Linked DNA regions of Homo sapiens: all the other regions are linked to region 1. The links are contacts of gene promoters, found by promoter capture Hi-C in blood cells and fetal thymus (Javierre and others, 2016). All regions are on one chromosome and are shown on one strand. The core of a region is centred on a gene start or on the middle of the fragment in contact, and the rest is flanking DNA. Distances in the headings are between cores, read along the strand shown.

Region 1 (2,891 bases), core at 1-2,500:
AGATGGAATAAATGATTTGGGAAAGGGAAAGTCAGTATTGTTTTAGCCACATTGAGTCTAGTAGCTTTTACAATAGAAACGCCAGCATGAAGTATCAGGAATACTTCAAATACATGACTAGGAACATTTTGTTTAGGGATAAATTCATATGTACTAGAAACTATTTGCTTTTTTAAAAGCAAGGGAATTAATAACACAAAATTCCGGATAGTGGTCACCTCAGGGGGGAACGAAGGGAGGGAAGAGACACAGTAGACTTCTAAGGGACTGGCAATGTCCTATTTCTTAAGCTTGTAGTGGATGCGAACCTTTATTATTCTTTAAGCTGTATATATACATTATACATTATTTCGCATGGAGGAGATATCATAAAAAAATATTAAAGGTTAGTTTCAGGCAGGCAAAGTCATAAACGGTTTTTTAAAAGATGCAAGGAACTGACAGTGCAGGAAAGCATATCAGTAAGAATTTTAAATGCACTGCACTATTCCAGAGTGATGATTCTACTTGCAGAGTGAATCTAAAATTAATTTAAGCCCGTCAATAGTTAGGAGGCTCAGGCCATTTAGGCTCAAGCGGCCATTTACCTCAGGACAAGTAAGGGGAACTGAGCCCAGCAATGCCTTCCACCTCCCCTCCCCCCACCCCATAAATCGAACCGCTTTGGTGCTGTCCTTCCACATTTAGAAACAAAGTACCGCTCCCTTACTTTAAGATTCGAAAGCGCTACATGGTTTCGGGGCCCAAGCAAGTAGTCTTTAACACACAGACGTTGCAAATAAATGCGCCCGCCCCGAGCCTTTCTCAGGTGGAGGTGGAGGTAGGGGAGAACGGCGAGGGGCTGGCCCGAGGTACCTACATCTCCGGCGCCGGGAATTTGTCAGCCTCAAACCCTTTTGCCCAGCTGGGTCCGGGTGAAACGACGAAGCCGCAGCACCCGGCCAGCTCCCGGGGCCCGTGCCGGGAGGGCATTCCCACAGCAGCCGGCCCCGGTGGCAGCCCTTCCTGAACTTCGCTCTGCAGGCCTGTTCAGCCCGTCTCCCCTCCTCCCGTCTCCTTTGTCGTGTTCCCGCTCCCACGAAACCGCATCCTGAGAACGTGCAATACCCAAACCAGAAAGCAATGGAAGCCATTTTCAAAAGAAAAGGTAGAACAAAGCTCCCCTTGCCGCCTGCTCTTCAGACAAGTCCTTACCTCTTCATGTTTCCACAGGCCCCTACCTCCAACTTGGGTAAATAGGCCGCGGACCTCAAGTCCCAGAACTCCGCGCGGCGGACTTCTAAGGGTATTGTGATGGAGCATGGGGCTCTGGGAATTGTAGTAGCACAGAGCTATGGCAACAGAAAGAGAAAGTAGATCTCAAGTGACAGGTATGCTGAACATTGTCCAAATATTTATTTTGAATTTCTCATTTAGGTTCAAAAGAAGACCCAAAATATCCAGCTCATAAAACGAGTCACCTTTGACTTCTTGATTCTCTCATCCATTACCACTAATTCCTGGCTCTTCTGTAATTTCCTTTGAACTTATCAACACTGCTTTTCTTTCAAGGATTTATCCAGCCTACCTACCGTTTCCAGTCGAGCCTCTGCTTCATCCTTCACGATGTAGCCAGAGTCATCAGACACGAGTCTGACTATATCACCTGTACTAATGGTTCTCCTCTATCTGTAACAGAGACTTGAGAGTTTTCTCCACTCAGAATCAGAAGTCTGTGTATGTTCAGGCCCACATATGTTTTATTGATAATTATGGTGAATCAAGAAAGAGGTATAGTATAGTGGTTAAAAGCATAGGCTCTTAGTTTCCAGAAATGGAAATGCAAATGTCTTTAAGTGTATGAAAAGATGTCCAATCTCACAAATTTTAAAGTACACTGACTACCAGTACTCCTTAAAACTAGCAAGGTCATCAAAAACACAAGAATCTGTCACAGCCAAAAGGAACCAAAGGAGTCATGATGACTAAAGTAATGCAGTATCTTGGATGGGATCCTGGAAAAGAAAAAAAGACATGAGGTAAAAACTAAGGAAATGTGAACAAACTATGCTCTTTAGCTAATAACAAGGTTCGTTAGCTGTGACAAATGTATCAGAGTTATGCAAGGGAAACTGAGTTGTACGTATGTGGAACTTTGTACTATGCAACCTTTCTGTATCTAAAACTGTTCTAGAACTTAAAGTTTATTTTTAAAAGTACATTAAACTACCATTTTTCACCTAACAGATTGGGAAAGATCCAAAAGTTTGATAACACACTTGTTTTATTGAGATTGTGGGGAAACGGGCGCTCTCAATACACTAGTGGTAGGAATATAAATTGGTACAACATCTATTGGGGGCAAATGAGGATACTACTAAAATCATAAATGTACATTCCCTTTAAAGCAGCAATTCAGTTATGAATAGAATCCTCAATACTATATATCCTCTAACCTACTATCATTCCTTGCAACATTGTTTATGAAAACAGAAATGAAAATATCCAAGAACATACTATGAAAATGTATCATTCAATGAAAAACTATGCAGCAGTTACCAAGATGACAAAGTTCTCTATGAACTGCTACTAAACAATCTCCAAAATATAGTTAGTGCAATAGCAAGGTGCAGAACGATATGTATACTATGCTTCTATTTGCATAAAAAGGGGAGCTCTAGTCACTTAAAAACATATATATGTGTGTTTGCTTGTATATGCACAAAATATGTTTGGGAGAACTTACAGACAAATGATGAGTGAATGCCTCCAGGTAGGGGAACTGGATGGCTGAGGGACAAGGGCAGAAAAAATTCTTCACGTATCTTTTTGTGCCCTTTGAATTTTGAACCCATGACTACATTACCTAGTCAATACTTTTTTAATTAAAGAGAAACCCTCTTACATCTCAA
Region 2 (2,891 bases), core at 220-2,719, 950 kb after region 1:
CTGGGATGTTCTGACCAGAAACAATCTAAAGAAGCCAAGTCTCTTCATCTCAGAGCTTGGAAATAGCCCTGAGATAAAGTTAGACAAGAAGGTTAATATTCTTAAATTTAAAGCTCAGAGGATCCCAAATCAATTTCCATAAGAAGTTGAGGGTCACTTCATCTCAGAGGTGTTTTTTCCCATGAGTCTTTGTGTCAGATAGCTCTGTGTCATGACTTTTCCTTAAGCAGCCAGGATCCAGACAAGGTAAGAGGCAGAAGGGTCTGTGGATTTCCTTGTTTGTTTAGGAACTCTAAAAAATATTGTTTTTGTTAATTGGGCAAAGAACAAAGGCCTCCTCCAAATGTAGGCTTTTTGGAAAATTTGAGACTGCTAATTTTCTCTAAAAATTGCAGCGACTATTTGCAATTCTCAAATCTCATTGTATATGAGTGACAATTTTGCTTGCCCTGACTGAAAGGTGAGGCAAGATGGGGACAGGTGGGTAAGAGAGACAGGTTAATTGTGGGGAGAGGTGTTGATATTTCCTTAAAGATGACTCTCATAGCAATGTATCTTTCAGATGTTTTGTTACCCAGCAGTGAGCATCAATCCCATGCATTTACTCGTTCATGCATGAATTCATTTAACAAACCCTGAGCACACGTGCCAGTTACTGTGCTAAGCAATGGACATGGGGAAATGTAAAAGATAGGGTCTTAGCCCTCTAAAATTCAGTCTAGTGAAGGAGACAGACGCGTAACATAAAAGCTTTCAGTGGAGGTATGAGAGGAGAGCTATGAGGGCACAGGGGAAAGGGCAAAAAGCTGTATCAGGAATTGGAGAAGGCTTATTGAGGAAAGTGACTTTTGTGCTGAATGTTGAAGGATGTGCAAGAGTGTGTGATGAAGAAGAGGGGCTGAGATGGCAAGGCACAGTTTAGGTGAAGGAAACAGCAATGGGCAAAGAACCAGGTGGTTTGGATGGCCATTCATTTGAGAGCTTTCCATTAGGTATGACAACCTTGGAAAATTAATCTCTGAAAAATACCCAGATCAAGTTTGAATAATTATTTTGTGTGCATTTGGAATGAGCATCATCTACCTTCCGCAATTTGGCACATAAAAAGAAAATGATTGATTTAGGGAAGGTTTAAGAACCTACTGAAGCACTTTGTTTTTTCTTTTTTCTTTTTTTTTCTGAGCTGAGCCTTTTCCTCCCACCCCAATTCTGTTGAAAGCAATAAAGCTAAATGGTAGATCAATGGCTTTGCCAGTAAAATACCCAAGTTCCACTGGGGACTTTAACTGGATGAAATTTCAGTTCAATCCTGGGTCAGTAGTTTTAGAAAATATATAGGTTTGGGACTTGGTTCAAAGTGATTCACTAAATGTTTTGTTAATAAAAAATAAAAGGAGAAAAATATTCTAAGCAAAAAAAATGCCTATCTGGGTTTGATTCTGGGCTCAAGAAATGAGTGCAAGTCATTCCAGGTTTTTGCCATAATTTAGTTCAAGTCCTGGTGTCCAACTTTGTGATGAAACACCCCCATTTAATTTTCTGTTCAAATTGTTCTATTCTGCTGTAAAGGCTATACAATAGCCATCTTTTTAAAAAGGCAGTATCTAAATCTAGTGATAGCTGCAATGGACTTCTGGTTAAATAGCTTAGTTTAGGATAGGCACATCCAACAAGTTGTTCCTACCTGAGAAAATCTTTGATAAGAAAGAATAAAGAACTAAGTAGAAGGATATTCCTTTCAATTAAAAAGACACATGCTTAAAAGATAGGGCTAGTAAACTGTTTAAGAATTATAGCTATATGCATCTGTCTTCTCGCACCTGTGTACAGATAGTGAGAGTCTGGGAAGGCTGAACTGAGCGGAAGTCAATGGGAGAGTAACTTTAGTAGCAGGAATTAGTGCTGCTGTGGCCAACAGAAATTCCAGGTTCTAGGCCCTATATTTATTATTGTATTTAATACTTGGATCAGCCAGAGGTTAGATAATCTCTTAGTCACGTTTTACAGATGAGTCAGCTGAGGTTTGGCTAAGTTAGGTAACTTGCCTATACAGATCCAGGGTAGAGTTACAAAGCCCGTATTCTGTGTGGATCCAGAGCTGTGCCCTTAACCACTGCGTCTCAGGTAAGAGCTGTAGGACTGAGTAATATGACACATTTCATGTCTAACTCACCTAAATTAGAGAACCTAAGCTTTAAAGGGTTCTAGAGCAAAATGAAGATAAGCAAGGTGAGTTGGAAAGTATAGAAATTTACATCATTGTCTGTATATAAGATAGATATATAAGGTGTATAAGATAGATGTATAGATATAAAATAAATATCTAAGATAAGAGATATAAGATAGATATGTAGATATGATAGATATATAAATGTATAAGATATGTAAGATAGAATAAACCGTGCAAGTAAGTAAGATGAATGAGGAGATTCAGATTCCCAGCTTCCCACAGGACTTCTCCCCTGACATGTTTTCATAAGCAGCTAAAACTCTATGTCCCGGACTGACCTCATTAGTACCCCTTCCTCCTTGTCACCCCTTCACCTAAAACCTGTTCTTCCTGCTGTGGTCTTGGAGGCCTCTTCCCCTCTCTAAAGTCATCTCTCATCCCTCTCCCACCCCACTTTAGAACTGTGTGAAAGTTACTTTTGAATTCCTGGTGCCTAGTCCCATGCCAGGCCCACAGAAGGCATGGGTGCTTGCTGAGTGAAGGATGAATAAATATTTCAGTGCTGAGTAGCGTGCACCCCCCAAATGGACTTCCCCTACTGATGATGCACACAGGCAAATTTAAACCTTTCAACTATTTGTGTCACCCACAGATGAACAAATGCAAAAAAAAAAAAAAAAAAGAAAATAATCATGAGAGAAAAGAGAAATACAGCATTAAA
Region 3 (2,891 bases), core at 242-2,741, 740 kb after region 1:
GAGAAAGGCAATACATGTAAAGTACCTGCTACTGTGCCTGGCATATATAGTCAAAGCTCAATAAACGGTGGTGGTGGTAATACTAGTCATAGTAGCAGGAGGAGGAGGAGGAGGGAAAGAAGGAGAAAGAGGAAGAGGAGGTGTAATAGCAGGAACAGTTGCTAGTAGCAGTAGTACTAGTAGTAGTAATTTTGGGCACTACACATTTTGCCAGAGATTCCTAGCCCTGACCTCAGGACTTCCAAAGCTTTTTATCACTATCTCTGAGAGTGGGGAGAACAATCATTCCCAAATACTCATAACCAATTTCAAATTTTACATATATCAACTAAAACTTTTCTTGGGAAGAGGGAGTGGTAATGAAATTGCAGCAGCAAAAATATTGGGTACCTTGGCCATGTGACTCCACCTAGCCCACCAGTAACTCTGCAGATGTGATAGACTAAAAAGGGTTATTGTGCTCAATAAGCTGCTAGTTTGCAGTTACTAATTTAAACAAATTTTATTTAGTAAGGAAACATTTACTGCCCTTCTGCAAGAATATCCAAAAGATTCTTCGTGTTGATACTTAAGTAAATTTGCCCATTATCCTGCCCAAATTCTTCTTGATTACTGCCTTTAAGCAAAGCCAAAAGAAAAGTTTTAGGGAGGGTCACATGCTTTCATCTCTAGTAATTTTAAAAAGAGAGAGTTCTATAATTTTGTATTTGCGATTTAAAATGTTTATTAGCAAAAATGTTCTGTGAATATTTTTGTTAGAGATGGAAGAGCAAGGGGAGCAGACTTAAGAGCTCCTGAGAAAGATTTGAACTGCTAGTGTCTTGTGAAAATGAAATACCTAGTTTGAAACCACTGTGGAATTATAGATGGAGAAAATTGTTTCCATGAAAAATGGAAAATAAGTTCAGTGATCCAGTCAATCTATTCATTTATACTACTGTAGTGACTAATTCAGAGTATTACATTCAATCTTATTAAGAATATAACGATTGACATTTAATATAGATGAAAAACCTAAGTTAACTGTGCAATCCAGTGTGTGGTCATAGCCTATTTTTATACTAGAAAAGAAAGTGCTTTATAATTTTTCAGAGACCTAATGCATTCAATCCTTTTTAAAAAATACTTTGTGACAATTCTTCATTTATGTCAGTAAAGTAACATTTTTGAAGACATTAAATGTTGCAGTTGAAATACTTGGAGGGTATTAACACATGACAGGGTTTAAGGATAAAATTAGTTAGGATTAATATTGTTTTCCTCGCCCTCCTCCCTCACATCTATAGGGCAGGTAAGCTTTCAGGTGTGGTCATGTCTTCATAGCCGAAACAGTTCACATAGGAATGCACTTTCATCCCACTTTTGCACTTTTCCTTTGGCACAGTGAAGCTTATCTTACAGTCCCGTTTCCCATCCCTCCTCTAGTTCTCATTTCTGTGTTCAAATTCCAGGTCACTCACTAAATGACCAGAAGACTTGCTTAATTTTGGCTCCTCTTGTTTGCTCCACTATTTTCACAATCCACCCAAATTCCCCATTTCCAGTGTGCTCTTGGAAAGTTAATGGAATCTTAATAATTCAGCTAAGGCTCTATCAAGCTTATCCTATACCTTGAAATGTTTCTAGTTCCACTTTTACCTCTAATCTCTCCTGCCATCAACCCAACTAAAACTAAACAAATGTTTTAAAAACCCAGACTTGAAACCAAAACAACTATCACCACAGCAGATAGGCACACAGCCATTGAGATGTCCTTACTGTCTCTGCCTGTCTAGAGGAGTCCAGCTCTGTGGTACGGTAAGCAAGGATTGGGAGGAAGAGAATCTTACTTGAATAATTTGTTCTGGGCACTGTGCTAGAGACATCATTTCTAATCTCACTTAGTGTTTATGACAATCCTGTGATACAGCTGGTTAATATTCCCATTTTTCAAGTGAGGAACTTGAAGGCCAGAGATATTAGATGCCTTACTCAAGGTCACACATAAGTAAGCTGGGATGCAGTTCTACATTTCTCTCACTCCAAAGTCTATGTTCTTTCCATTGCATTGTGCAGCCTAGTGGAGAAGTTGTTGGTTTACTTGCCACCGATTCATTTGTGCTCAGATAGGTAGGAGGCAGCTCCAGAAAACCCTTTGTTTTTCTCCACTAAATAGCTCTAGCTCTAGAAAAACATATGGTCTGTTTGGGGGCCTGGCGTTCCTGAATCTGTGGTAAGCCTCTTATGTACTCCTGCCATTGGCCTACCTTTAATAGCCCAGAGCAGCTCTCCATATTCTGACAGCCCTTCATGGGGTACAGAGGAGAGGGAGTTGCCTAGAGTTGGCAGAAGGAAGCAATAATACCCACAATTAGGCATTTACTTGCTCAGATTATTTTTGTGCCATGAGGGGTGGAAATAGTGTGGGCAGCTCCAGGTATCAACACTGTCCTCAGCCATAGAGTTTACGCTGGGACCCATATTTTCTTGCTGAGACTGCCGGGATGGGTCCTCATTCTAGGGCTGTACATGACCATGTTTCAGGGTAAAAGTAGTCTCCATGAGACACAGGGTTTCTTAACAGTTACTAAGAGTTTGACAGTAAAGATGTACTCTCAAAAGTATAATTAATGTTTGCACATTTAAAACAGGATATAAATAACAAATATAATACCACAATGACTGCAAATATATAGATTTCCTCAAAAAAGAGTGAATGCATTGCTATTATTAATGGTGTCTTTTGATGGAATGATTACTTAGAAGTACACATACAGCCAGGAAATCAGCTATTTACTACCTCAAGACAGAAAGAGAATCCAATGCCTCTGTCTATTCTCACTACCTCTCCTCTCACCTAAATCAAATCTTGAATCCAAGTTTACCCTATCTCAGCCAGTCCTAAGAACTCT
Region 4 (2,891 bases), core at 290-2,789, 670 kb after region 1:
GGGACAGAGAATTTTGTTAGGCAAAAGTTCAACTAAGAAACCACATACGTCAGTGCTTCTCAAACTGTACTGTGCACTCAAATCACCTGAAACTCGTTAAAATGAAGATTATTATTCAGCAGATCTAGGGAGGGGCCTGAGATCCTGCATTTCTAAAAAGCTCCCAGGTGTGCTGCTCCTGCTGGCCCACGGACAACACTTTGAACAGTAAGGCCATATAGTGCAAATGATAAACAAAAAAATTCAAGCATCCATTAACACCTGCTTCCTAATTTAATCCAGATCAGCTTCTACACTAAACAGTCACTTATTATCCTCTTTTCTCCTGTAGCCTGTCTCAGGCCATTGTCTCCGCTTTAGTTCTGCCAGTCTGTTTCAGCTTATGTTTGTTTATTTATTTATTTGTACAAATTTAAGGGGTTCGAGTGCAGTTTTGGTACATGGATATATTGCAGAGTGGTGAAGTCTGGGCTTTTAATGTAACCGTCACCCAAACAGTGTAGATTGTACCCATTAAGTAATTTCTCATCTCTCACCTCCATGACATGTTTATGTTTAACTACTCATTTAAATACAGGTGTTAAATACATATGAACATCTTCTGTCACTCTGAGCACTAGGCAGTCTCAATCAGACATGAATTTCTCTTGGCACAAAGTAGATATTTGGCCACAGGGTTCCAGTCCTCAACAATGGCTCTCAGCTCTCTCACCCATTAGGAACAGTCTTATAAAGGTAAGGCATGTAGTAACACTACTGTCCCAGCGCTTTCTAATTTCCTTTCTTAGAGCTACTGCCTTCATCTGGAGCAGAAAGTAGCCTGGCTTTTTAAAGAGTCCAGATCCTTGTTCCTTTCACATAGTTGAAACAATCCCAGCATTAGTTTAAGGCAACCATTGAAAAGATTCTTTGCAGAGTCCTGCCAACTCCAAAAGCCCAGTGAAGTTTGTTTCCTGGAAGATAATTTACTTTATTTTGCCACCTCCTCTCCTCCGTCCTCTTAGGATTTTGACTGATCATTTTGAGCCATTCTTCATGTTTTTCTTCTATTTTTAGACTCTCTGACTAATTTTCTCCAGTAGCAAGAGTCAAGGAAAGCTTTCCACTCCAACCAAGCTCTACTTTTTAGGTAGGAAATATTCTCTCACAGTGTTTACAGATCAACTTGGTGATCTGTGGTCCCTGGCAACTGGATTGCTTTTCTATCTTCTCTTTAACCTTTGGGGATGTTAACCTTGGGGGTGACCCTTCTAACACCTTTAGCAGGTAGGTGTTCATTGCAGCCTCCACATGAATAGATTAGGTAAGTTCACATTCTATCACTGGATGAATTAAAAACTCTGCTAAAAAAGAATTGTAATCTTCTGTTTTTAACTTCTATCCATTAATCTTACTTTTATCATATGGAGCAGAAATAGCACTTTCAATATTTCAAGACATTTGTCATATCCTCCTTTAACCATCTCTTTGCTAGACTAAACATCCCCAATTTCTAATCAGTCCTCAGTTACTTCTTGACCCTTCATTCATTCAATAAACATCAGATGCACTATGATTTGTAAATGTTCACTTTAAAATACAGTACCTCGAAATGGAACGTAGTGCTCGCTGTGTAGTTTGACCAGCATGGAGCACATTGGGACTGCCACTCCTTGTGATGGTCTGATGCAATTTCATGATCATACCAGCTTAAAAAAGAGTAACTCACTTCTTCACATCTAGTGAGTACCTACTTTGGGTCAGGTACCTAACATCAACTAGAAACCTCTGTTTTCAGTGGTAGAGGTTCTCTGTTCTTTCTTACCCCATGGGGCCTGGAGATGGTACAGCCACCCTCTTCCAATCCTTCCTACTATCATCTGCTGTACTTTAGTTCTCTCACCTATTGAGGACTTCACCTCCTCACTGATAGTCTTCCTTTCCACCCCAACTCTAGCCACCATCCTGAGTGATCTTAATGTCCTCATAGATGACCCATTTATAAGCTTCATCCTTTCAATCATTTTACCTCCACTCTGCTTCACCAACTATTTTCAATGATCCACTTTATTCTCAGCAGATGATCTCACCTCTTATTCCATTATGAAAATCTAGGTCGTTGGATGCTAACACTCATTTTCCTGTCCTAACCCCACCCTGCCACATAGTTGTGTCCCTACATGTCCTAACCTCTTTTTTTTTTTTTTTTTTTTTTTGGGCTTGCAGAAATACACATAGCTTCTCCAGTTCAAGGCTAATTTCTCTACGTATGCTTTGGAGCCCATTCTTTCTCACCTCCATGAGGACTTACTTCATCAGTTATCCCTCCTCTCATCTGTGTCTTCAACAACTCCTTCTCTACTTACTGGCTGCTTCCCATCAACCTTCAGGCATGATCAACTTTCACTCTAAAAAAAGAAACAAACAAATTTTCCTTCGCCTCTATCCCCAACTGGCATTTGCCCTATTTCTCTTCTTTTATTGTTATGGAATCTTTTCTAAAGTGTAGACACTCTCCATTTCCTCACCTCCTGTTAAAAACTCAGCTCCCACTATGGCTTTTCTGTTCCCAGAACACCACTGTTATTTCTCTTTTAAGTAAACCAATGACATCCTAATTGCCAAATCTAATGAACAATGTTAAGTCTTTATTTTACTGGACCTCTCTCTGATGTATTTAACATAATTGATTGCTCTCACCCTACTTCTGTCCTCATGACTCTCATGACCTACTCCTTGGCTTTGGTGATGTTGCACATCTTCTGACTGTCCTCATTCCTCTCTGATTACTCCTTCTTATGCTGTTTTGTGGACTTTTCGTCTGCCACCCCTTAAATGCCAGTCTTTCCCAGGTTTTTTCATTCCTCACCTTTCCCCTAGATCATCTCATCCATACCCATGGTTTTATCTAC
Region 5 (2,891 bases), core at 185-2,684, 650 kb after region 1:
GTCTCCAACTCATGGATGCAATCTCCAAAGCATGTCATTTCCCCCATAAAAAGTCCATTCCCAGGCAGCACCATCACTTTGCCAAACTTTGTAGCTTTCTCTTCGTTGTAATCACTAGCACCAGCAGCTGGCTTAGAGAGGGAGCATTCTCCTCAAGGAATGCCCTGAGACATTTGCTCATTTTATGACAGGTTCCTACGTATGTGTTGACTACGAGCAGTAGACCACAAAATTGTGTTGAAAAGTAGGTGCTGGGCAATGCCACTCCTAGGTATATACCCCAAAGAATTAAAAGCAGGGACTTGAACAGATACTTGTACACCAGTGTTCATAGCAGCATTCTTCATAATAGCCAAAAGAGGGCAACAACCTAAGTGTCCACTGACAGATGAATGGATAAGCAAAAGAGGTATATCCATACAATGGAATTTTATTCAGCCATAAAAAGAATGAAGTACTGATATGTGCTACAACATGGATGAACTTTAAAACATGTTGAGTGAAAGAAATCAGACACAAAATATTGTATGATTCAATTTATATGAAATATCTAAATAGGCAAATCCATAGAGACAGAAAGTAGAATAGAGGTTACCAGGGGGTAGTGGGAGGGGAAAATAGGGAAACGGTGAGTTATTCTTTAATGGGTACAGAGTTTTTGTTTGGGATGATGACAAAATTTTGGGAATGATAATGGTTGCACAACATTGTTAATATACCTAATGCTACTGAATCGTACACTTAGAAATGGTTAAAATGGCAAATTTTATATCTATTTTACCACTATATATATATATGTACTATGTACAATATATGCATATAATACATCTCTCTCTTTCTCTTTCACACACACACACACACACACACACACACACTAGTAGATGTGGGGTAGGGCACCAGGCTCACTCATTGGTGAAAGGACCGGCCCCCACCTACTAGTCTCCTTGCACATGTGATTCACATCTGTGCCTCAGCAAAAACACAGTTTCTTACCAGTCTGAGTTCTCATGAAGTATCCAAACCATGAATGTTAAGTTTGCAAATGCATTTGTGCTTTTAATGGAGAAGGTCCCTTAATCCAAGAATGCCTATTCTTTGTCAGACCACTAGGCACTCAGGAAATAGTTATTTTAAATTACTTTGGGCTATGAAAGGACTTTTGAAGCTTGATACCAAAAGCAAAAATCACAAAGGCAAAGAATGACAGGCTTAACCACACAGAAACCCAAAACCGCTCTACAGCGAGTAACTCCATCCTCAAAATCAAATGGTAAATTAGTTGACAATGCGTTGCAATCTCTAATACAGGGTTTCTCACAGTGTGGTCTACATACCAGCGGTGCTCTGGGAGAGGAATTTTAGATGGTACATGGACAGAGAACTGAATCTTAAATAGTATGAACTTAGGCACTGCAGCAGGCAGCCACTCAAATCATGCCGTGTGAGTGGCCACCACCTCAGAAGCCAGGTCCAGGAATATACATTATGAAATTACTTGTTCTGAGACTCACTTAGAGAAGCACAAATAATTTTTTGCACAAATTTTTCTTGAAAACCTGATCTCTGAATCTATATCCTTCCCCTTTGTTACTATATTAATAGGGGATATTAAATGAATTAGCACACATAAAGCAATTAGAAATGTTTGCTATTTTTATCATTTTCTGAGCATTTATATATGGGAACCAGTTGGGGCCAGGTCAGAAGCTTAAAGGTAGAATCCTAGGGTTTTTAGAGCTGGAAGGGAAATCGGATTCAGAGTATTTCAGACCACACTAGCCAGGTACGCTCTGGGGTCAAAGGTAGAATAGAGCTGATTAAGAGGTTTTGGGTAAAATCTTAGAAAAAAATTTGAGGTTACAGCAACAGCAATCACAACGAATACTGTCAAAGCTCCTGTTACAGGTTGTTATACCTTACAGGTCAGAAAAATTAAGGAAGGCTCTTCAAATGTCAACTTGGGAAGCTTTTTCATATGCTACATTTAAATTGGAAACTTCTGCTGTTTGCCCAGAATATTCTATCTCCCTCCTAAGTTTTCCAGTATTAGAAGCATATTCAAATGACAAGGGGGAAGTCCCCTAACAACAGGGTGACCAACCATCCCAGTTTCCCTAGGACTGTTCCAGTTTGAGCACAGGCAGTCCTATGTCACAGGACTGGGATGGTTGGTTTCCCTACCTAATAAGGACATTTTGACCATTTGGAAAGGTTCTGAGCTCACATTTACCTCTGCTTCATAGACAATTCTTAAGTGTTACAAGAATTTCTTTAGCATTAGTTTAGTTACTGAGTGTTCTTAACAATTCTTTCTTCATAGACAATTCAGGCTCTGCTCTTCATTGTGAGGCATTGGGCAAGATACTTAATTTTTTCCAAGCCTCAATTTCCTTCTTTATAAAATGAAAATGGATGATAATAGTACCCATTTGGTCGGGCGCAGTGGCTCATGCCTGTAATCCCAGCACCTTGGGAGGCCGAGGCTGGTGGATCATTTGAGATCAGGAGATCGAGACCAGCCTGACTAATATGGTGAAACCCCATCTCTACGAAAAATACAAAAATTAGCCGAGTGTGGTGGCGTGCGCCTGTAGTCCCAGCTACTGAGGAGGCTGAGACAGGGGAATTGCTTGAACCCAGGAGGTGGAGACTGCAGTGAGCTGAGATCGTGCCACTGCACTCCAGCCTGGGCGACAGAACAAGACTCCGTCTCAAAATAAATAAATAAATAAACAAATAAATAAATAAATCCATTCCAAAGAGTTGATGTAAATATTAAATTAGATTATGCAGGTACATTGTGAATGTTCAAGAAGTGTTAGTTATTAATCTGTTATGGTTATTAGTTACATAATACAAGATTGAAAGGATGGTGTTTAAAATACACTTCT
Region 6 (2,891 bases), core at 123-2,622, 630 kb after region 1:
CGTGGTATGATTTGAGGGGATAAAGGTCAAAGGCACCATGCCCCAAAACTCAACTCTACTTGCCCTAGGCTGAGCCTGAAATCCTCACTTTGCTTACTCCTTTTGAAGGCCCAGGTTTAAATAAAATTGCAACTTGGGAAGGGGAGCACATTCAGTTACTACAAGCTGTTTACACCTCAGCTGGATTCATCATATCACATTCGCATTAGCAGAAAGTAAGGCCTCAAGGCCATGGTTAAGAGGCAGGAGATCAGGAAAGTTTTGGAACATGAGCTATCATCCTATAGTTGAGAGTCCTAAGCAGCGGCGGGGGGTAGCATGAAGAGCTTGTGCTAGAAGGGAGAAGGAGTGAGAAAAGGGAGTATGAAAAACAAAGCCTACACTGTTCACCATCTGTTTTCTGAGGGATGAGCTTGATTCCTCTATCCAAGCTGAAAGTGGTTCTGATTTGGCAGCTAGGTTTACAACAAGGGAGACACAATCTCCTCTCCAGACTGAGGCATTTATCCAGAATTCATACTAACCTCTTCCCTCGTAATACAGGGACTTTGTGCTGGTGAGGAGGAACCAGGTCTGGAGCCTGGGTGGGATTCACTTTCCCTACTCAACTTCAAGGCCTGGCATGACCCATCCCTTGCTTCCAGAGGAGGGGAATGGTGAAAACAGTCATTAGTTCTTTGTTATGGGTGGTGAGTTGGGGGGTGATCTGCCTCCTTGGCCAAGCTTCCTGCCCTGGAGACAAAGAACAAGGAAGGGAAGCACAAAGAGCTATGCCTGGAGGTGTGGACTTTCTCGTAGCCTGTCTCAAACAATGAGTGGGGCTCCCAAAGAAGGCTGGTTTTGATTTTTCAGCTGGAGTCCCTTTGCGTTGGAGAGGTTAGGAGCCACCTGGATGGATGAGAGCCCTAAAGATGGATCACTGCTGCCCAGTTTAGATTCCCCACGGACACCACTGGAGCCTAATGAGGTTGCCAAGGGAGCTGGTCCGGCAGCCTTGCAGAGGAGAAGGGGCAGGAAGAAAAGACTCTGTCCCAGGCTCAGCAAGAGATCCCATAGCCAAGATACGCACAGCAGGCCAGAATGTAAAAATCAATTCACAAAGACAGCAAGAATTAAGTCTAGACAGAACCCAACTGAGTGAATTTGTTGGTCTCTGTGGGCTGCAGGAACCAGAGAAGCCCCATCCACTCAGGTTGCCACTAGCTTCAGCCATGGTGACATGGCATCAGCTGCAAGCCTACTGTGGCTGGCTCAAGGGCCTGGGACTTGTCCCCTGGGCCTCTAAATGCCAGGCCAGGAGCAGTACAAGCCTCTCCTATCCTTCCCTTTACCTACTGCTTGGCCACTGACAGGGTGCACCTGGCTAGCTCAGCTCTGTTTTCTTAAGTGCTTGCTGAGCCAGAGAGGAGAGAGGAGGGAGGATGGACTCAGGGAAGGGAGGAAGGGCCAGGATGCTGGCCTCCTGAGGTAGCATAGATTCCCCATGAATACACTGCTGACTATGATAGGTAGCAGTGCTGCCTCTTCCAATTCTAGCACTTCTGGGAGTCATTTCTCAGCTCACACTTCCCTCCTGTGACAGATACATAAATCCTTGGCTGAAGAGGCTGCCGTGCCCCTTCCTGTTTCAGATGTGATTTTCCTCAGATGAATTGCGCCACCACTTTCAGACTCACATGGGTCAGACGATCAGACCAGGCATTGTGATACAGCCATCAGGTTATAGTTAGGAAGAAGAAGGGAACTATCGATTTCCTGGTAACTCCTTGGATCTGTCTCCCCAAGTCAAACTAGGTACCATTACGCAGACCCCTTAGGTCTTCATGGACAAATCCACAGCATCCACAACCATATGACATATTTCAAAGACACACAGAAATGACTTCAGTATGCTTGAAAATCAACTCCCAAGTATTTCTAGGTGGCTTTTCCATTTTGTGAAATAGCAGTGGCAATGCTTGGTCTCAGCTTAGCTTCTCCCTACATCCAGTTTCTTCTAGTTTCTGTATACTCCAGGGGTGCAAGCTTATTTTCATATCAGCCCAAATAATTAAGAAGGCAGATCTACTGAAAAAAGTTAGACCCATGGTGCAATTTCTTTCTTCCTTTTTTTTTTTTTTTTAAGACGGAGTCTTACTCTGTTGCCCAGGCTGGAGTGCAGTAGTGAGATCTTGGCTCACTGCAACCTCCGCCTCCCAGGTTCAAGTGATTCTCCTGTCTCAGCCTCCCGAGTAGCTGGGATTACAGAAGCGTGCCACCACGCCTAGCTAATTTTTTTTTGTATTTTTAGTAGAGACGGGGATTTCACTATGTTGGCCATGCTGGTCTCGAACTCTTGACCTCATGATCTTCCCACCTCGGCCTCTCAAATGCTGGGATTACAAGCGTGAGCCACCGCGCCTGGCCTATCATGGTGCAATTTCAAAGCTAGCTAGACATGATGTTTCTCCTACATTATCTCTTATTTTGGATTATCCATGCCACATGTCCTATGTTACCCTAGCCATGTGAAACTCAGCCATACTTGGATTTGGAATCCATTTGTGAGTGGGTAATTTATTTTTGAAAAAACTTTCTTTATGCACTACTTGGGCTGGTATCAAAGTGATCCTGCACCCCAGAGTTCCCAGAAACTAGCTAGAAGGTCGGTGGGGGGCAGCCTGGAATTTTGTGATTGCTATAGATAATCCACAAAATGGATAATGAATATAGGAATAATCAAAACTCTACCCAGATACAAGAATGGGGCTATGTGGGTAGGCAGCTAAGAGCAGAGGCTGCAATGAGTTGCTAGCACACAATTTAGTATCATTAAGGAACAAGCATGACCCTGGATGCTCTAAATAGGAAAGAAGCTTGTAGGAACTATGAAGTCGTCTTCCTTCTCTATT
Region 7 (2,891 bases), core at 383-2,882, 600 kb after region 1:
GGTCATCAAGAACATTCACTAAAAAAAAAAACCTCTTAAATCAGGAGCTTAACTGGTATCAGAATTCCCTGATATATTAATATTAATTTGCCCTCTGCACCACATAGAGTTTTCTTGGTTCAGAAAGTCTCCGAGCTGACCTTTCATTGGCTTGTTAATTTTTCCTCAACTATTGCTTTCCCCTCCCCCGAAGATTCCAAGGAAGATGATGAGAAGAAAAGGGGACAGAGAAATAAGCTGGGCTGGCAGGGGAAAAACACCACCAGGAAAACAGGGCACAGGACAGAAGTAAAAACAGCTCCTTCAAGAGGGACTCCCTTATGTGGAGACAGAGGCAGAGAAATCCAGGTGGTATGGGAAGGGAAGGCAAAAGGGTTAAGGTTCCCAGCAAAGCTGCATTTGAATTGATCATTAATTTGTCTACGGCCATACCACCCTGAACACACCTGATCTCGTCTGAGTTGTTCATTAGTTATACTTCAATTATAAAAGCAAATTGAGTCTGAGACTCACTGACAATAATAGTTACTATTAATAGAGCATCAGCTATGGGCAGACACTGTGCTGGCTGCACCACCAACCCCAAGGTTTAGGCACTGTCACTATCATTTTACAGATGAAGAAACCAAGGGTCTGAGAGGCTACCTTGCCCAAGGCGGCAAAGGTAATAAATTACAGAGCTAGAACTGCAGCCCAGGGTCTTCCTGACCCAGAGATCAAATCTGTTCCTACTGCACTGATCAGTGGGGCAGGGAATAGGTTTGTTGAATGGTTAGAGGCTTGAATGAGTGAGTTGAGGAAGTTGGTAGGGGGTTTGGAGGTGCCAGAGAGTGGTAAGGAAGAAGAAAGGGTGAGAAGCAGCAGCCCTACTATTAGAGAGGTCCAGAGACTGCCTTTGAGTTCTGCGAGCCTTGGCTTTTCTGACACGTGAGGCAGAGGAGAGCTGCAATGGGTGACTGGAACAATATCCAACTGTCCAAATGAGCTTTATGAGACGGCCATGCTCAACCACATCATTCCAAAAGGCAGCCAAGCAATCCTCAAAGAAAGCTATCTGTTTGGGAAATAGGAGACATTAATCTAACAGGGTGGCTTCCAGAATGGAACGTGTAGGAGAGTGTACAATATTCCAAATCAAGTATGGAGTCTTGGCAGCACAATCACAATGCAGTCAAACTTTGAGTTCCTGGAGCCCCACTCACCGGCAACTCTTAATTAACTCCTTTTTCCCCCTATTCCAGCTTTTAGGAAAATGAGGTCAATAAGAAAACAAGTTCGTATCAAAGATTTAGTTAAAAAAAAAAAAAAAGACTTGGAAAGGAGGTCCCAGGTTCAGCCCAGACTCAGACAAGCTCTCATCCTCTCTACATCTCTGGTTCTGCTGAGTGAGATGTGATCACCCTGAGACCTTATGATCCTCCATTAGGAAAGAATGAATGGATCCCAGGGTCCACTGGCTCCCTAAGGGAAGAATATGGACTTAAATGTCTCTGTAGAAAGATTTTCTGGCCAGGCGCAGCGGCTCACGCCTGTAATCTCAGCACTTCAGGAGGCTGCGGTGGGCAGATCACCTGAGGTCAGGAGTTCGAGACCAGCCTGGCCAACATGGTGAAACCCAGTTTCTATTAAAAATACAAAAAATTAGCCGGGCATGGTGGCGCATGCCTGTAATCCCAGCTACTCGGGAGGCTGAGGCAGAAGAATCACTTGAACCCGCGAGGCGGAGGTTGCAGTGAGCCGAGATCGTGGCATTGCACTCCAGCTTGGGCAACAAGAGCGAAACTCTGTCTAAAGAAAAAAAAGAAAAGAAAAGAAAAAAGATTTTCCAACAACAAGGGCAGGGGAGATAAGGGTGGGTAGGAAGGGTGGGGGTGGGGGAAGGAGGAGGAACCCAAAGAGTTTTCTGCTTAACCCTCAGCACACCAGAAAATTTCTCCACCCAGAATAGCTATGCCAAACCTTGCAGTGAGTGGAAGTTTGTGCTGTACCTATCCATGATCTGATCCAATATTGAGACTCTCAGGGTCCTTGTGTCCCGTGGAAGTGGGCCCCAAACAGGAAACAGTGGCCTAGGCATTCAATGGCCCAGCTACCCCAACATTCATAAATGTTGCCAAATTCTCTTTCTGACATCCCACAACTCACAATGTAGGCTGGACCCAGAGCCAACACGGCAACAGCACCTCACTGAGGAGCCAGGCCCTTTGCTGGCTCTCAGCTGTAGTCTTAAAGGGACATAGTAACAAAACAGACATGGCTGACCCTACCTTTCTCAGGGGCGACCTTCTAGATGGAGGGTGGCGTAATGAGGACAGGGCCAATTCCCTTCATTTCAGGAGGCTTTGGAAACCAGCATATTCCCTTTGAGCTGAAAGAAGTGCCTCAGCATTTCCCATTCATCTTTTCCCCTTCAAAAGCCAGACTGGACTCTCTAGGACAAGAGCCCTTCCTACGTCAGGTTCCCATGGGACAGTAGAACAGAGACTGGGCAAAGTCTGGGCAGCATAACCCCGGGCAGGATCTCAGAGCCCTGATGGCGTTGGACAGCAGATTCAGGGCGGGTGCGGTAGGTTGGGGGTGGTGATGAGGGGGAACATCTCACTTCCCTTTTTGTTACACTTGAAGCACTGTGTACCACACAGCCAGAAGGAAACTATTTATAGGTAAGTCTTCCTTATTTTCTACAGGGAATGTTCCACCCAAAGGTTCGGCAATGTTGCCAGCAAAACACAGGGTCCTGTGTCAGGAGAAGCGGAAAAAGACATGATGCGAGAGGTGCGGGAGAAGCCACAAAGCAAACACTGGGTTAGGAGCTGGAAAAGGAAATACAAAAAGGATATTGAGCACTAGAGCGTTAACACAGTGTTAATGGGATGGTTGAAAAACATCCC

Evidence for each region. Contacts are between HindIII fragments. The CHiCAGO score rates a contact against its expected background, and 5 or more counts as called.
Region 2: a fragment that was not itself captured here is called in contact with the fragment with the promoter of RBM41 in region 1 in 2 of 17 cell types (naive CD8 T cells and activated CD4 T cells); the score reaches 7.2 in naive CD8 T cells.
Region 3: a contact is called between a fragment that was not itself captured here and the fragment with the promoter of RBM41 in region 1, in 1 of 17 cell types (naive B cells). The highest score is 5.7, in naive B cells.
Region 4: a fragment that was not itself captured here is called in contact with the fragment with the promoter of RBM41 in region 1 in 1 of 17 cell types (naive CD4 T cells); the score reaches 6.6 in naive CD4 T cells.
Region 5: a contact is called between a fragment that was not itself captured here and the fragment with the promoter of RBM41 in region 1, in 2 of 17 cell types (total B cells and naive CD4 T cells). The highest score is 6.4, in total B cells.
Region 6: a fragment that was not itself captured here is called in contact with the fragment with the promoter of RBM41 in region 1 in 2 of 17 cell types (naive B cells and total B cells); the score reaches 5.3 in naive B cells.
Region 7: a fragment that was not itself captured here is called in contact with the fragment with the promoter of RBM41 in region 1 in 1 of 17 cell types (activated CD4 T cells); the score reaches 5.4 in activated CD4 T cells.

Annotation. Positions count from the first base shown.
Region 1 is chrX:107,117,572-107,120,462 of GRCh38, forward strand. RBM41 (RNA binding motif protein 41) reads right to left here and starts at 1,251. Exons shown (of 8, transcript NM_001324242.2): 1 at 1,195-1,251. The coding sequence starts at 1,202. RefSeq lists enhancers at 555-634, 1,015-1,204. The HindIII fragment of the contact is 8,519 bases long and covers 289-2,891 here.
Region 2 is chrX:108,069,059-108,071,949 of GRCh38, forward strand. All of the region lies in intron 3 of VSIG1 (V-set and immunoglobulin domain containing 1), which reads left to right. Among named protein-coding and RNA genes, the nearest start is that of PSMD10, 21 kb to the right of the region's middle. The HindIII fragment of the contact is 1,442 bases long and covers 749-2,190 here.
Region 3 is chrX:107,862,057-107,864,947 of GRCh38, forward strand. The region is part of intron 3 of MID2 (midline 2); the gene reads left to right. Among named protein-coding and RNA genes, the nearest start is that of MID2, 38 kb to the left of the region's middle. The HindIII fragment of the contact is 209 bases long and covers 1,388-1,596 here.
Region 4 is chrX:107,787,003-107,789,893 of GRCh38, forward strand. The region is part of intron 1 of NCBP2L (nuclear cap binding protein subunit 2 like); the gene reads left to right. Among named protein-coding and RNA genes, the nearest start is that of NCBP2L, 11 kb to the left of the region's middle. The HindIII fragment of the contact is 887 bases long and covers 1,097-1,983 here.
Region 5 is chrX:107,768,872-107,771,762 of GRCh38, forward strand. All of the region lies in intron 1 of TSC22D3 (TSC22 domain family member 3), which reads right to left. Among named protein-coding and RNA genes, the nearest start is that of TSC22D3, 5.5 kb to the right of the region's middle. The HindIII fragment of the contact is 542 bases long and covers 1,164-1,705 here.
Region 6 is chrX:107,751,812-107,754,702 of GRCh38, forward strand. The region is part of intron 1 of TSC22D3 (TSC22 domain family member 3); the gene reads right to left. Among named protein-coding and RNA genes, the nearest start is that of TSC22D3, 23 kb to the right of the region's middle. The HindIII fragment of the contact is 1,302 bases long and covers 722-2,023 here.
Region 7 is chrX:107,718,903-107,721,793 of GRCh38, forward strand. The region is part of intron 1 of TSC22D3 (TSC22 domain family member 3); the gene reads right to left. Among named protein-coding and RNA genes, the nearest start is that of TSC22D3, 55 kb to the right of the region's middle. RefSeq lists an enhancer at 2,678-2,837. The HindIII fragment of the contact is 8,360 bases long and covers 1-2,891 here.